Linked DNA regions of Homo sapiens: regions 1 and 2 are each linked to region 3. The links are contacts of gene promoters, found by promoter capture Hi-C in human tissues and cell types (Jung and others, 2019). All regions are on one chromosome and are shown on one strand. Each heading gives the region's core, a stretch centred on a gene start or on the middle of the fragment in contact. The rest is flanking DNA. Distances are from core to core; before and after follow the strand shown. Region 1 overlaps GCAT (glycine C-acetyltransferase). Region 2 holds the start of POLR2F-AS1 (POLR2F antisense RNA 1). Region 3 holds the start of TOMM22 (translocase of outer mitochondrial membrane 22).

Region 1 (4,566 bases), core at 468-2,967, 870 kb before region 3:
CAAGATGTGTAGCACTGACGCTCCTTCTGTAGCTGTTGAATTTGGTGCCTCCTCAATGGTGACTCCAGGTCTGTTTCCTTTCTGGACCATTTCCCCAGGGCCTGGCACTGTCATCTTTCCAGGCCTGCCCTTGCCCCACCTGAGCTGCTGTATCCATCTCCTCTCCTTCACCTCAGGAATCCTTAACTTCTGTGCCAACAACTACCTGGGCCTGAGCAGCCACCCTGAGGTGATCCAGGCAGGTCTGCAGGCTCTGGAGGAGTTTGGAGCTGGCCTCAGCTCTGTCCGCTTTATCTGTGGAACCCAGGTACACAGTGAGTGGTGGGGGGTTGTGGGGACTGACCCCAGCTGCCTGCTTCCCACAGTCAGCAAGGCTGGTTTAGCCAGCTCAGCTCAGCCACAGCCCTGGGCCTACTGTTGGCCTCAGAGCTGTGCAGCAGAAAGGCTGAGTGCAGGCCTCTGTTTTGCTGAAAAGCTTTGGCCAAGGAACTTTATATATATATTTTTTCTTTTTGAGACAGAGTCTTGCTCTGTCACCCAGGCTGGAGTGCAGTGGCACAATCTTGGCTCCCTGTAACCTTCGCCTACCAGACTCAAGGGATTCTCCATGCCTCAGCCTCCTGAGTAGCTGCGATTACAGGCATGCTACCACACCCAGCTAATTTTTTTTTTTTTTTTTTTTTTGAGATGGAGTCTCGCTCTGTCGCTGAGGCTGGAGTGCGGTGGCATGATCTTGGCTACTGCAAGCTGCGCCTCCCAGGTTCACGCCATTCTCCTGCCTCAACCTCCCGAGTAGCTGGGACTACAGGCGCCTACCACCACTCCCGGCTAATTTTTTGTATTTTTAGTAGAGACGGGGTTTCACTGTGTTAGCCAGGATGGTCTCGATCTCCTGACCTCGTGATCCACCCACCTTGGCCTCCCAAAGTGCTGGGATTACAGGCGTGAGCCACCGCACTCGGCCTAATTTTTATATGTTTAGTAGAGATGGGGTTTCACCATGTTGGCCAGGCTGGTCTTGAACTCCTGGCCTCAAGTGATCTCCTCCACCTTGGCCTTCCAAAGTGGAAACTGCCTTTTTGAGCATTCATTTTCCCACCTGCAAAACAGAGTCCCTCACACCTGACCTTCTATAAGAAAAGAGGAGTAGGCGGCAGGAACTGAGACTAAGGGCTCTGGGGCTGTTCTGACGGGAGCACAGTTGCCAGTGCTGCCCTTTAGTGTCCCTGTTCCTGTGGGCAAGTATCTTAACTTTTCTCTGTCTCAATTACTTCATAGGGAAAATGAAGATAATAGCACTTAATAGGATCATTACAAATTAAAGACTTAATACATGTAATGCTTAGAATAGGCCGGGCGCAGTGGCTCATGCCTGTAATCCCAGCACTTTGGGAGGCTGATGCAGGCGGATCACCTGAGGTCAGGAGTTCAAGACCAGCCTGGCCAACATGGCGAAACCCTTTCTCTACAAAAATATAAAAATTAGCTGGCATGATGGTGGGTGCCTGTAATCGCAGCCACTTGGGAGGCTGAGGCAGGAGAATCGCTTGAACCTAGGAGGTGGAGGTTGCAGTGAGCTGAGATCACGCCACTGCACTCCAGCCTGAGCAACAGAGTGAGACTCTGTCTCAAAAAAAAAAAAAAAAAAAAAAAGCATAGAACAGCCTGGCACATAGTACTGCTCAATGAATGTTGGCTATTATTTATTTTCCAAATGTTACAAAATAAATTTATATAAGTATGAAACTTAAATAGTACTTATTATGTGCCAGGAATTCTTTTAAGAAAATTACAACTATTGGCCAGGCGTGGTGGCTTATGCCTGTAATCCAGGCACTTTGGGAGGCCGAGGTGGGTGGATTACTGAGTTCAAGACCAGCCTGGCCAACATGGTGAAACCCTGTCTGTGCTAAAAATACAAAAATTAGCTGGCCGGGCTCGCTTGAACCCATGAGGCAGGGGTTGCAGTGAGCCACGACGGTGCGACCACACTCCAGCCTGGGTGACAGAGGGAAACTCTGTCTCAAAAAAAAAAAAAAAAGAACATTACAAGTATTAACTCATTAATCCTAAGTGATAGTTGCTATTCTTATTCCCGCTATTGAGATGAGGACACTGAGATCCAGAGAGGTTAAGTGACTTGCCCAGAGGCACACAGCCTGTTGTGGGATTTGAACCCTGGCTCAAGAGTCCATGCTGGCTGGGCATGGTAGTTCACACCTGTAATCCCAATACTTTTGGAGCCCAAAGCAGAAGGATCACTTGATGCCTGGAGTTTGAGACCAGCCTGGGCAACATAGCAAGACCCTCTCTCTAAAAAAAAAAAAATGTTTTTAATTAGCTGGGTGTGGTGGTGCGCACCTGTAGTCCCAGCTACTAGGGAGGGGAGGCTGAGTTGGGAGGATCACTTGAGCCCAGGAGTTCAAGGCTACAGTAAGCTATGGTCTCACTACTGCACTCCAGCCTGAGTGACAGAGAATCCCTGTCTCATTTGCCAAAAAAAAGAAAGAGTCTGTGCTCCTGACTACTTGTGATTATCATTAACTGCCCTCTCAGAAAGGTGAGAGTGAAATGAATGTCAGAGGCAGAACTCCTGACTCGCATCCAGTCACTTCCCAGCAAAGCCCTCACCCAGACCCAACAGTTTTCAAATTTACAAATTAGAGGCCCAGGTGAACCCAGAATTACCTCTGTGATCTTTTTCTTCACCATTAGGCGACCAAAAAAGACACTCAGTATGGTGTTAGGAAGACACATCTTTCTTCTCCACGAGTGCCCGTAATTCCACCATTAGACTGCCACTGTAAAACCAAAGTCTGCCCAGGGAGGGAACCTAACAGGTCCCCAGTTCCTCAGTGGGAACTGTCTGTCAGATTCCTGGCAGCTCTGGGATAGCCCATGTGTGGCAGAAAGTAAGGAGACTGAGGCTGCAGGCTTTCTGGGTTGGGTCTCTGTGGTCCTCCAAGCCTCTGTCCCCTCGAACTTGTCCCACATGACCCCACAGGCATCAACACGTGTCTCACTCATTTTCTTCAGAGCATCCACAAGAATCTAGAAGCAAAAATAGCCCGCTTCCACCAGCGGGAGGATGCCATCCTCTATCCCAGCTGTTATGACGCCAACGCCGGCCTCTTTGAGGTGTGTGGAAGCTGTCCTGCGGGTGAGGGTTGGTGGGGCCTGTTAGGCTGAGGAAGGCTTGGGTGTGGGCAGTCGGGAGAACCTAGCAGGATTCAGTGCCATGCCTAGAGGCTCCAGAGCCCGCTTCTGGAGGTCAAGGTTGGGCCAGGTAGGTGCTCCAGGAGGAATCCTGGGGCTTGCAGGGAGCCTGAGTTCCAGAGCCTTTGGGGGATAAGCTACATCAGCTGGAAGGCTGGGGGAGGCGGGGGCCTGGTACTCACCAAATATATTCTCACCTCCTCTTACTAGAGCAGGGCGCTGGTCCAGCCCGGCACTGAGACACGGGGGCCCCAGAGAGAAGCACAGAACACCTTGCCTCTCTACCCAGAGGAGCGCCCTGGCTGGCAGTACAGTTTTTTGATTTGCTGGAGTCCCGGTCAAGGGAGAAGCCCAGGGTGGTTAAATGATGGCTCTACGCTCACTGCCTCCCTCCAGGCCCTGCTGACCCCAGAGGACGCAGTCCTGTCGGACGAGCTGAACCATGCCTCCATCATCGACGGCATCCGGCTGTGCAAGGCCCACAAGTACCGCTATCGCCACCTGGACATGGCCGACCTAGAAGCCAAGCTGCAGGAGGCCCAGGTGGGGCGACGCCTGGGTCCACCCTCAGCCTCCGCCTGGGGAAGGAAGTGAGGCTTAGAGAGGCCAACTCCTCACTCACAGAGATAGCCTGAAAGTTTGAAACAGCAGAGATTTGTCCAAGATGTGAACCCAGATCCCTCACACCCAGAGCATTATTCTTTTTTTTTTTTCCCTGAGACAGAGTTTCACTCTGTCGCCAAGGCTGGAGTATAGTGGTGTGATCTCGGCTCACTGCAACCTCCACCTCCTGGGTTCAAGTGATTCTCCTGCCTCAGCCTCCCAAGTAGCTGGGATTACAGGCATCCGCCACCCCACCTGGCTAATTTTTGTATTTTTAGTAAAGACGGGGTTTCATCATGTTGTCCAGGCTGGTCTCGAACTCCTGACCTCAGTTGATTTCACCCACCTAGGCCTCCCAAAGTGCTGGGATTATAGACGTGAGCCACTGTGCCTGGCACCAGAGCATTATTCCATTGTGCCATGGTGCCTTGAGGTTTTTCCCTGTGTATGTGTGACAGTCTCACTCTGTTGCCCAGGCTGTATTGCAATGGTGCAGTCATAGCTCACTGCAGCCTCAATCTTCTGGACTCGAGCGATCCTCCCACCTCAGTCTCCTGAGTAGCTGGGACTACCGGTGCCCACCACACCCAGTTTTTTATTTATTTGTTTTTTAGATGGAATTTCACTCTTTTTGCCCAGGCTGGAGTGCAATGGCGTGATCTCAGCTCACTGAAACCTCTGCCTCCCAGGTTCAATTGATTCTCCTGCCTCAGCCTCTGGAGTAGCTGGGATTACAGGCACACACCA
Region 2 (4,151 bases), core at 450-2,949, 650 kb before region 3:
AGTCATGTGCTGGTAAATATGCTTCACAACCAGCTCTGTTTGTGGAGGTGGGAGACACAGAGGTAGACTGCCAATTTTCATAGTGGAAAAAGTCCCATCAGGGCAGGCTCAAAGCTTCCAAGGTAATATCAACTGGCTTCGATTCCAGAGACTTTCACAGTTGGCTCTCGGGAGCCAGTGTGCGCTGACTCCAGCGCACTGCCACACCCTGGGTTATAAACTGTATTTGCCCAAGACTGCTAGTGCTCAACCCTCCTTCTCCCCGATCATTCCCATGGTGCCCTGCAAACCGGAGCCCGAGGATAGAAAAGTACTCTGTGGTTTGTCCAAGCCCAGGGGACCGCCATGGTCTGAGACCCCAGGCCTGTGGGTCTGAGACTTAGCTCAGCTGCTTATGCACTGGGTGATTCAGGCACATCCTCACTTCTCTGGGATGACTTGCTTTGCAGGGTCACTCCCGGGATAAGAAGAGGTCATGCAGTGGGGAGGTGTGGGTGGGGGCAGGGTTGTGCTGGGAAGGCCTGGGGAGCGTGGTCAGTGGTTCCCCGGGGATCAGGAACAGGCCCTCTCCCACCCCACCCCCAGCTCAGTTGCTGGACAAATCCATCAGATCAGTCGGCTGTCACCAGTAGGGGGTGGGAAAGGCAGGGTCTGTGAAATGAGGGGCCCTGGGACAGGACGAGGGCTGGAAGAGCTGTGAGAGGCCCTGGGCAAGAGGTAAGGAAGCAGGCTACAGACCACCAGCACTTCAGACCCTGCCAATGGAAAGACGGGTCTTGGCAAGTGTCGGTGTCGCCCCCTCCCTCCTTGTCCCTTGGGAAACTCCTACTACTCTGTCAGGCCTCAGCTCCAGCACACCTCTTCCAAGACGCAGGGGTTAAGAGCGAGAGTTTGGGTGTCATTCCATCTGCAGGGCCCTGGACAATCTGCTTCATCTTTTTCAAACTCATCTGTAAAATGCGGACAGTAATACCACAGAGCCTGCAGGATGGTTGCAAGGATTAAATGAGATGTTCTTGGCACGGAGGAGCCTACTTCTGACAACAAGGATGCCCTCGTTCCTTGGCTACTTCTCCTACCCACGTCCCCCCACAAGGTAGACTTGGCCCTCTGAGTCCTCACCACACCACCCTCTTAGCCCAGGTAGTAATTACAGTCATGTCTGTCTCCTCCATGGAACAGTGAGCCCCTAAGTGTGGGGACTGGGTCTGATTCACCACCAGGTCCCCAGAGCCCAGTGCAGGACCTGGGCAGGCACGGACTTCACACCCTGTGCCGCTGTCCAGGTCCCCACCAGCACCAACACCCTGTCCCAGGCGCCTGATGTCACAGGTGTCCCGGCTGAGTGGCAGCTCCTCACTCAGCTTCCACTTCCTCACGTGTGACCCTGGTGACCTCCGAAGGTTGCTTCCAGCCTGAAAGTGCTGTGAGTCCATGTCTCAAACCCGCGTCACCATGCTGCCCCCAGACCAACCCCTCCCCGCTTCCCTGCCCCATCAACGGCCCCACTGTTCTCCAGTGACCCAGGCATGAAGCTTCGGAGTCATTTTTGACTCATCCATCCCCTTCATCCCCTATGGCTAGTCATCGGCCATGACAATTTTTCCTTCCAAACACATCCGTAGTCCCCTCCCCAGCATTCTAGTCCCCTCTGTCTTGGCCTCTGTTTTGGTCTGAAGTCTGGAGATTTTGTCCAGTTTCTTTTTTTTCTTTTACTTTTTTTTTGAGACAGGGTCTTGCTCCGTGGCCCAGGTTGGAGTACAATGGCGCGATCTTGGCTCACTGCAGCCTCAACCTCCTGGGCTTAAGTGATCCTCCCACTTCAGCCTTCCAAATAGCTGGAAGCCTAGGCACAAGCCACCACACCCAGCTAATTTTTAATTTTTTTGTAGAGACAGGGTCTCACTCTGTTGCCCAGGCTGGTCTTGAACTCCTGATCTCAAGCAATTCTCTCACCTTGGCCTCCCAAAGTGCCAGGGTTACAGATGTGAACCACTGCACCACACCTGGCCTGCTTTTATCCATTTTCTAACTGGCCAGTGTCCTCTCACCTTCCACCACAGCCATCTTCCCAGGAGAGCTCTGGAGTTCCACTGTTACGGTCCTCCCAAAAATGCACAGCGGGTATCTGACAGGGGAAACTGCTTCACACCCATCACCTGCCCCTGAATCCATCAGTCAGGAGCCGAGCTGCTGCCTCGAGGCTGAGTGTGCCCAGGAGAGACCGGGGTCTCTGCCCACAGTCAGGCACATAGTCCACTGAGCTCTGCTATTCCTTAGGCCCAACACTGGGCATGGGGCAGGGAAACCAGGATGCTTGAGGCATAGGCCCTGTCCACACCCTGATTGGGGACATGGATGGATGATGCCACACTGACACAGTGTGCTGTAGGAACCAACGTGGGGTGGCGGACGCCCCTCATGCTGCCTGGAATCAGGACGTGTCACAGAGGACAGACAGTCGAGCTGGGTCTTGAGGAATGAGCAGGAGTTCTGCGGAGAGGGTGCTTCAGCAAGGAAGCTGCCTGGATGCGCAGTTATGAAGGCCTGCAGGGGCAGGAGGGGTGGCCACGGTGGGAGGTGGGGAGGCCAAGCTGAGAAGGGCTCCGTGGGCCACTGGTGAGCTGCCTCTGGAATCCCTTACTGCCGTCCATAATTCATGTCCCCCACACGGAGCATGACATAATTCATGTCCCCCACATGGAGCATGACATAATTCATGACCTCCCAACCTGTGACGCAACACCTCCTTGTAAACATCAAAGCAGCCATCTGTGAGCCATCTTTGAGCCCAGGAGGTTGAGGCTGCAGTGAGTTGTGATCATGATACCGCACTCCAGCCTGGGCCCCAGAGTGAGACCCTGTCTTAAAAAAAAAAGAAAGAAAAAAGAAAATTAAAAAAAAAAGGAAGTGGACAAAATCTTGAGATTTTGCACAGAGCTGTCCTCCCTAGTTGCCCTGTCTTTCTTCGCCAGCCTTTTCAGGTGGACGGGGCATGGCTTATCTCTCCCATTTTACAGATGAGGACTCTTGAGACCTACAGAGAGAAAGCGCTTGTCCAGGGCGGCCTGCTAGGCTCTGGTAGAGCCAGGGCTGGAATTTCCCTGGCCCCAGATCCCAGAGTCTAGAGGTTGCAGCGGGGTTCAAGCCTGGTTACCCAGTCCCTCTGGGGTAGGGCTGGTTCTGTAGGACCAGATGGGGCGACAGACAGGCCCAGCTGCTGGGAACTCCAGGACCAATCACCAGTGCCCACAGAGCCTCGCCAAGGCAAGCCCTGCTGGGCTGGCACAGCCTCTGAGGCCAAGCCTGCTCCCCCAGTGCAGTGGGGGTTGGGGGATGGGATCTGGCCCCGGCGGAGCGGGAGGGACTGGGTGGCGGATTTGTGTTTCCACTTGATTTCCTCAGTTGTTTTCCAAGAGCGGTGGCAGGATCCTGAGGGGAGGGGTGGATGTGGGGAAGCCACCGGAAGGCGCCACGGCCCCGCTGCCTGCCCCCCATGTGACTCCACTGACTGACGACAGTGCCCGTGGAAGGGCCTCGAGGCTTCTGTCCTGTGCTCGCTGGGAGAGGGTGTGACGTGGACGAGGGCACTGGGCGACTCCTCATGACCCATGCTGACTCTAAGTTTGCTGCTCACTTGGGGCCCCAACCCCTTTGATTCTGGGAGTCAAGAGAGGTTGTGACCGCCGCTGACCCCTATTCCCTGCACCATCCCAGGGGTCAAGTGGCTGGGGCCGAACCCGGACAGGGCAGGAGTGCCCCAAAACCTAGGGCTTGGCATGGCCCCTTGGTGTCCTCCCGACTCCCCTTGTCAGCTCCTTCCGCCTCCCCTTCTGCTTCCTCTACTCCCACCGTTTCAGCCTTGCTGCCTCACCACCACCATCTGTCCCCCAGCTCCTTGGGCCTGTCCACGCTGCTCCTCATCCCCACTAGTTGTCTTTTCCGCCTTCCAGGGCTGCACTGGGCTCTCACTGGGCCTCGGGCCACAGCCTCTTCCCTTCCATGCACCCCTGCGTCCCAGGCCTGGCAGCTTCCCCAGGCCTGTCACAGAGGAGTGGGGTCAGCCACTCCTGGCTTCAGAATCTGCTCGGCCACTTCCTGGCCACGTGGCGGCAGGCAGGTCCCAACCCTTCTCTGGGCTCCAGCTTCCT
Region 3 (4,609 bases), core at 599-3,098:
TGAAATCCCATCTCTACTAAAAATACAAAAAGTTAGCCAGGCATGGTGGCACACACCTGTAGTCCCAGCTACTTGGGAGGCTGAGGCGGGAGAATCGCTTGAGCCCAGGAGGTTGCAGTGAGCTGAGATCATGCCACTGCACTCCAGCCTGGGCGACAGAGCAAGACTCCATCTCAAAAACAAACACACAAACTCAAACAAAAATTTATATCTGCATACTTTCTGACCAGCTCACCTACTTACTAGAAATCTATGTACTATGCCTCAGTTTCCTCATTTCTAAAATGGGGATAACAGTGCCTACCCCAGTGAGCTGCTGTGAAGATTAAAGGAGGACACACCGCACCCACCCACACCCACAGGCACCAGAGCACCTGGTATTTAGGTGTTAACTCTTACCTTTGTTTGGTACATAGGGAAGATTTACCTGATGTTTTCCCAAAAGACCTGCAAGACACTAATTTATTCCTACCAAGTAAAACATGGCTCAGGAAAACGAAACTGGATCAGTGTCTCTCTAAAACAGCCCAAGAAGCAGGCCAAGGAGATGGACAAGGAAGATAAATCTTTGGCCCTGGTCACAGGCCGAATTAAGAAATCCGGCAAGGTGGGGCGCAGTGGCATAGGCCTGTAATCCTAGGACTTGGGGAGGCTGAGGCAGTCGGATTGCTTGAGTCTCGGAGTTCAAGACCAGCCTAGGCAACACAGTGAAACCCTGTCTTTATATATATATGTATGTGTGTGTGTGTGTGTGTGTGTATATGTGTGTATGTATATATACATAATACGTATATATGTATACGTATGTATATATATACATATATACACATACCTATATACACATATATACATATATACACATATATACATATATATACATATATACGTATATATATACACACACATAAAATATATATTATATATAATATATAACTATATATAGGCCAGGTGCGGTGGCTGATGCCTGTAATGCCAGCACTTTGGGAGGCCGAGGCGGGCAGATCACTTGAGGTCAGGAGTTCAAAACCAGCCTAGCCAAATGGTGAAACCCCGTCTCTACTAAAAATACAAAAAATTAGCGGGGCGTGGTTGGTGGTGCATGCTGAGGCAGGAGAATCGCTTGAACCTGGGAGGCGGAGCTTGCAGTGAGCCGGGATCACACCACTGCACTCCATCCAGTCTGGGCGACAGAGCGAGACTCCGTCTCAAAACAAAACCAACAACAACAACAACAACAAAAAGCTAAAATCTTACAAAAAGCGACCTGTTCCACTGTCCCTTGGGCCTGCGGTGATGGTGGGCCTGACTCCATTCGTCTTTAAACATCTCTATTCCCGGCCACATCTTTGGCCACCTATGCTCGAATAAAGTGTTGTCTTGGAGCCTGTTGTAAATTTAAGAATAAACTTTTGTTAAAAAAAAAAATACAGTGGCTCATCATCTCTTGAGTTGTTTTCACTCAGCCACTCCTACCTTAGCTGTGAACTTAAAGTAAAACAAGCCCCCAGAATCTTGCCAGAGTCAGCCCTTTGATCTTTGTTCTCCCCTGAACTCTATTACCTGGAATTAAAACAACGCATTTGAAAAAAAGAAAAACAAGCAAGTTTCTGAGCTCACCCTATACCCGCTGAACAGAATGACTGCGGTGGCGCCCCAGAACCTCTCACAGGCCTCTCAGCTGCTGCTAATGCCCGCCGAAGCCCCGACGCCCGGATAAGGCCAGGGCTGCCGGACCCGCTGCGGGCACTGGAGGACCCGGGGCTAGAGGGCGCCGCTCTCGCCCGGCTCGCGCCTCGGCTCCCGGAAAAGCAGCTCTGTCCGCCGTTCGGCTGCGCTCACCTCCTTTCCGCTTCCGGTGTCCCCTACAGTCATGGCTGCCGCCGTCGCTGCTGCCGGTGCAGGGGAACCCCAGTCCCCGGACGAATTGCTCCCGAAAGGCGACGCGGAGAAGCCTGAGGAGGAGCTGGAGGAGGACGACGATGAGGAGGTACTAGGGCCTCGCGGGGTGCAGAGCGGGAAGCGGGCCCGCTCGTGGGTGTGGGATCCGCGTGGTACGGGATCGGAGCGAAGCGGCTGCTTTGGGAGGCGGGGTTAGGGGCCCTGCTGGGCCCTGGGTGCCCTAGCTCCAGTGGGGCTCGGCGGCTCCCAGTGCCGCAGCGGGGCCAGGAATGGATGTCGCTTTTTCGGCTAAGACCCGCGTCTACTCCACCACAGCTAGATGAGACCCTGTCGGAGAGACTATGGGGCCTGACGGAGATGTTTCCGGAGAGGGTCCGGTCCGCGGCCGGAGCCACTTTTGATCTTTCCCTCTTTGTGGCTCAGAAAATGTACAGGTAAGGAACGAGGGCAAAGGCACTGGGTACGTGCATGGGATGGTCGTGGTGCTGTGAAAGAACACGGGGTTTGGAAGCAGCAGACCCGTGTTGGGTGACCTTGGGCTTGTACCCTATCCTTTCTTAGTTTCCTCTTCTGTAAAATGGGGATTCTTACCTGGCAGGGGAGTTGTGGGGGTTATTTCAGATTGTTGGAGATAATTAATGAATAAGGAGCTTTGTAAGAACTCAGGAGAATGTTAAACCGCCATCACTAGATGATACAGCTACCATAGCTGCTCCTCCTGTCTCTGGTAGGAGTATGGTGTAAGGAGCGGGTAGAATACGTTTATCAAAAACATTGGAGTATGTAATGTGAGAGGTTTGGTTACTGGGTAGTTCTTGCCTGTTTTGTTTGCATGTCTTCATGCTCACCCTCTGGGGATTTTCCTCTGCAGGTTTTCCAGGGCAGCCTTGTGGATTGGGACCACTTCCTTTATGATCCTGGTTCTTCCCGTTGTCTTTGAGACGGAGAAGTTGCAAATGGAGCAACAGCAGCAACTGCAGCAGCGGCAGGTGAGCCCAGACCTTGGGCTTTTTGCCAGTGGTGGAGACGCAAGTTATTTCACTAACACATTGGTCCCCAACCTTTTTGGCACCAGGGACTGGTTTCATGGAACACAGTTTTTACATGGATGGTGGGTTGGGGGTGGCCGGGGGTCGGGGGGGGGGTTCTGGATGATTCAAGTGCATTACATTTATTGTGCACTGAATTTCTATTATTACATTGTAATATATAATGAAATAATTCTATAACGTAGAATGAGTGGGAGCCCTGAGCTTGTTTTCCTGCAACTAGACAGTCCTGTCTGGGGGTGATGGGAGACAGTGACAGATCATCAGGCATTAGATTTTCATAAGGAGCTTGCAACCTAGATCCCTCGCATGCACTGTTCACAAGGGTTTGTGTTCCTATGAGAATCTAACACTGCTGCTGATCTGACAGGAGGTGGAGCTCAGGCAGTAATGTGAGCGATGGTGAACAGCAGTAAACACAGATGAAGCTTCTCTCACTTGCCTGCTGCTGATCTACTGCTGTGTGGCTCAGCTCCTAACAGGCCATGGGCCAGTGCCAGTCCACAGCCCAGGGGTTGAGGGCTCCTGTTGTAGCACCTGAGTTGACCAACAGTTAATGTGTGGGTGGGGATTGGGATCGGGCCCATGCTCTTTTAGTTGTCTGACTGTGCTTTCAGTATTATTTTTGTAGACGTTGGCCCCATCAGGTATGGTGAGAATAAGCTCTCTAGGCCTGTATGATGCCTTACACCCCTCCTTTTCTTTTCCAGATACTTCTAGGACCTAACACAGGGCTCTCAGGAGGAATGCCAGGGGCTCTACCCTCACTTCCTGGAAAGATCTAGATTGTTATTGCTGTTTGAGCTGTCTCAGTGGGATAAGTTTGAAATTCAAGTGTTTGAACTGCTGATAATTTGGATTTTTTTTTTTTTTTAACTTTGGCACATTGATCTATCTAAACCTGGTGGGGAGAATTATCCCCACATTGTCTCATGGAAAGACTCAACTTGCAACTGTGCCCTCCACACTATCCTTACTTCTGTCTCCACTCTGATACCAGAGTGCAGCCATGCAGATGGTTATTCCAGCTCTGGTCACCCGACTCCTTTCACCAAATTGCTCCTAACTGGAAGATCTCACTTTCCCCTTGTGGGGTAGGAACCGATGCCAGTGGGAGGGATGTGCCCCTGACCATTAACGACTGTTTTTTTTTTTTTTTTTTAAAGAATGGAGTTGTTGGGGCAGGACATGCACACAATGTGAAACAGACAAAATGCATTACACCTGTAGTGTAAAGTGGCCACTATGAATCCCTATGTATGAGAGGAGGGAGGCAGGCTGCAGCTTCAGCCACAGAATGGGGACTATGGAAGACAGCAGGAGCTCATTTCCTCTGCACATTTTGGCTGTTAGACCTGTGTGTGTGTTTAAAAAAAGAGAAGTCAGTGCTCACTTTTTGTATTTAAATATTAAAAATGATTCCAACTGAAAGTGTCATCCTAAGTACCTTGAAATGAGACCACGTCAGAGACATGTACTGCCCCTCACATTTTCTCACCTAAACCAGCAGCACCTCCATCTTAACAGCCATAGGCCCAAATTGTTTCCAAGTGAAAATTCATTTTTAGCCAAGTACTTCATAGCAATCTTTGCCCTGAATTTAGGCAGTCACTTTGAGATCCATCAGCCTAAAACAAAGGATTGGGTCTATGTACTTCTTT

The links. The method cuts DNA at HindIII sites, captures the fragments that hold promoters and counts their contacts. A contact is called where the count stands out against the background at its distance.
Region 1: a fragment that was not itself captured here is called in contact with the fragment with the promoter of TOMM22 in region 3 in 1 of the 25 tissues and cell types used here (stomach).
Region 2: a fragment that was not itself captured here is called in contact with the fragment with the promoter of TOMM22 in region 3 in 1 of the 25 tissues and cell types used here (dorsolateral prefrontal cortex).

The regions. Positions count from the first base shown.
Region 1 is chr22:37,809,851-37,814,416 of GRCh38, forward strand. It overlaps GCAT (glycine C-acetyltransferase), which reads left to right. Exons shown (of 9, transcript NM_014291.4): 2 at 177-307; 3 at 3,037-3,138; 4 at 3,613-3,759. Among named protein-coding and RNA genes, the nearest start is that of GCAT, 4.2 kb to the left of the region's middle. The HindIII fragment of the contact is 3,636 bases long and covers 1-3,535 here.
Region 2 is chr22:38,030,291-38,034,441 of GRCh38, forward strand. It overlaps POLR2F-AS1 (POLR2F antisense RNA 1), which reads right to left and starts at 3,938. Exons shown (of 2, transcript NR_199596.1): 1 at 3,875-3,938; 2 at 1,882-2,865. It also overlaps a transcript of POLR2F not described here. RefSeq lists enhancers at 732-1,931, 2,943-4,151. The HindIII fragment of the contact is 4,209 bases long and covers 1-3,804 here.
Region 3 is chr22:38,680,109-38,684,717 of GRCh38, forward strand. TOMM22 (translocase of outer mitochondrial membrane 22) reads left to right here and starts at 1,849. Exons shown (of 4, transcript NM_020243.5): 1 at 1,849-1,987; 2 at 2,215-2,333; 3 at 2,771-2,888; 4 at 3,659-4,609. The coding sequence starts at 1,871. The coding sequence ends at 3,733. It overlaps TOMM22-DT (TOMM22 divergent transcript), which reads right to left and starts at 1,748. Exons shown (of 2, transcript XR_007068097.1): 1 at 1,618-1,748. RefSeq lists enhancers at 1,637-2,836, 1,883-1,952 and silencers at 1,683-1,752, 2,143-2,192. The HindIII fragment of the contact is 12,362 bases long and covers 1-4,609 here.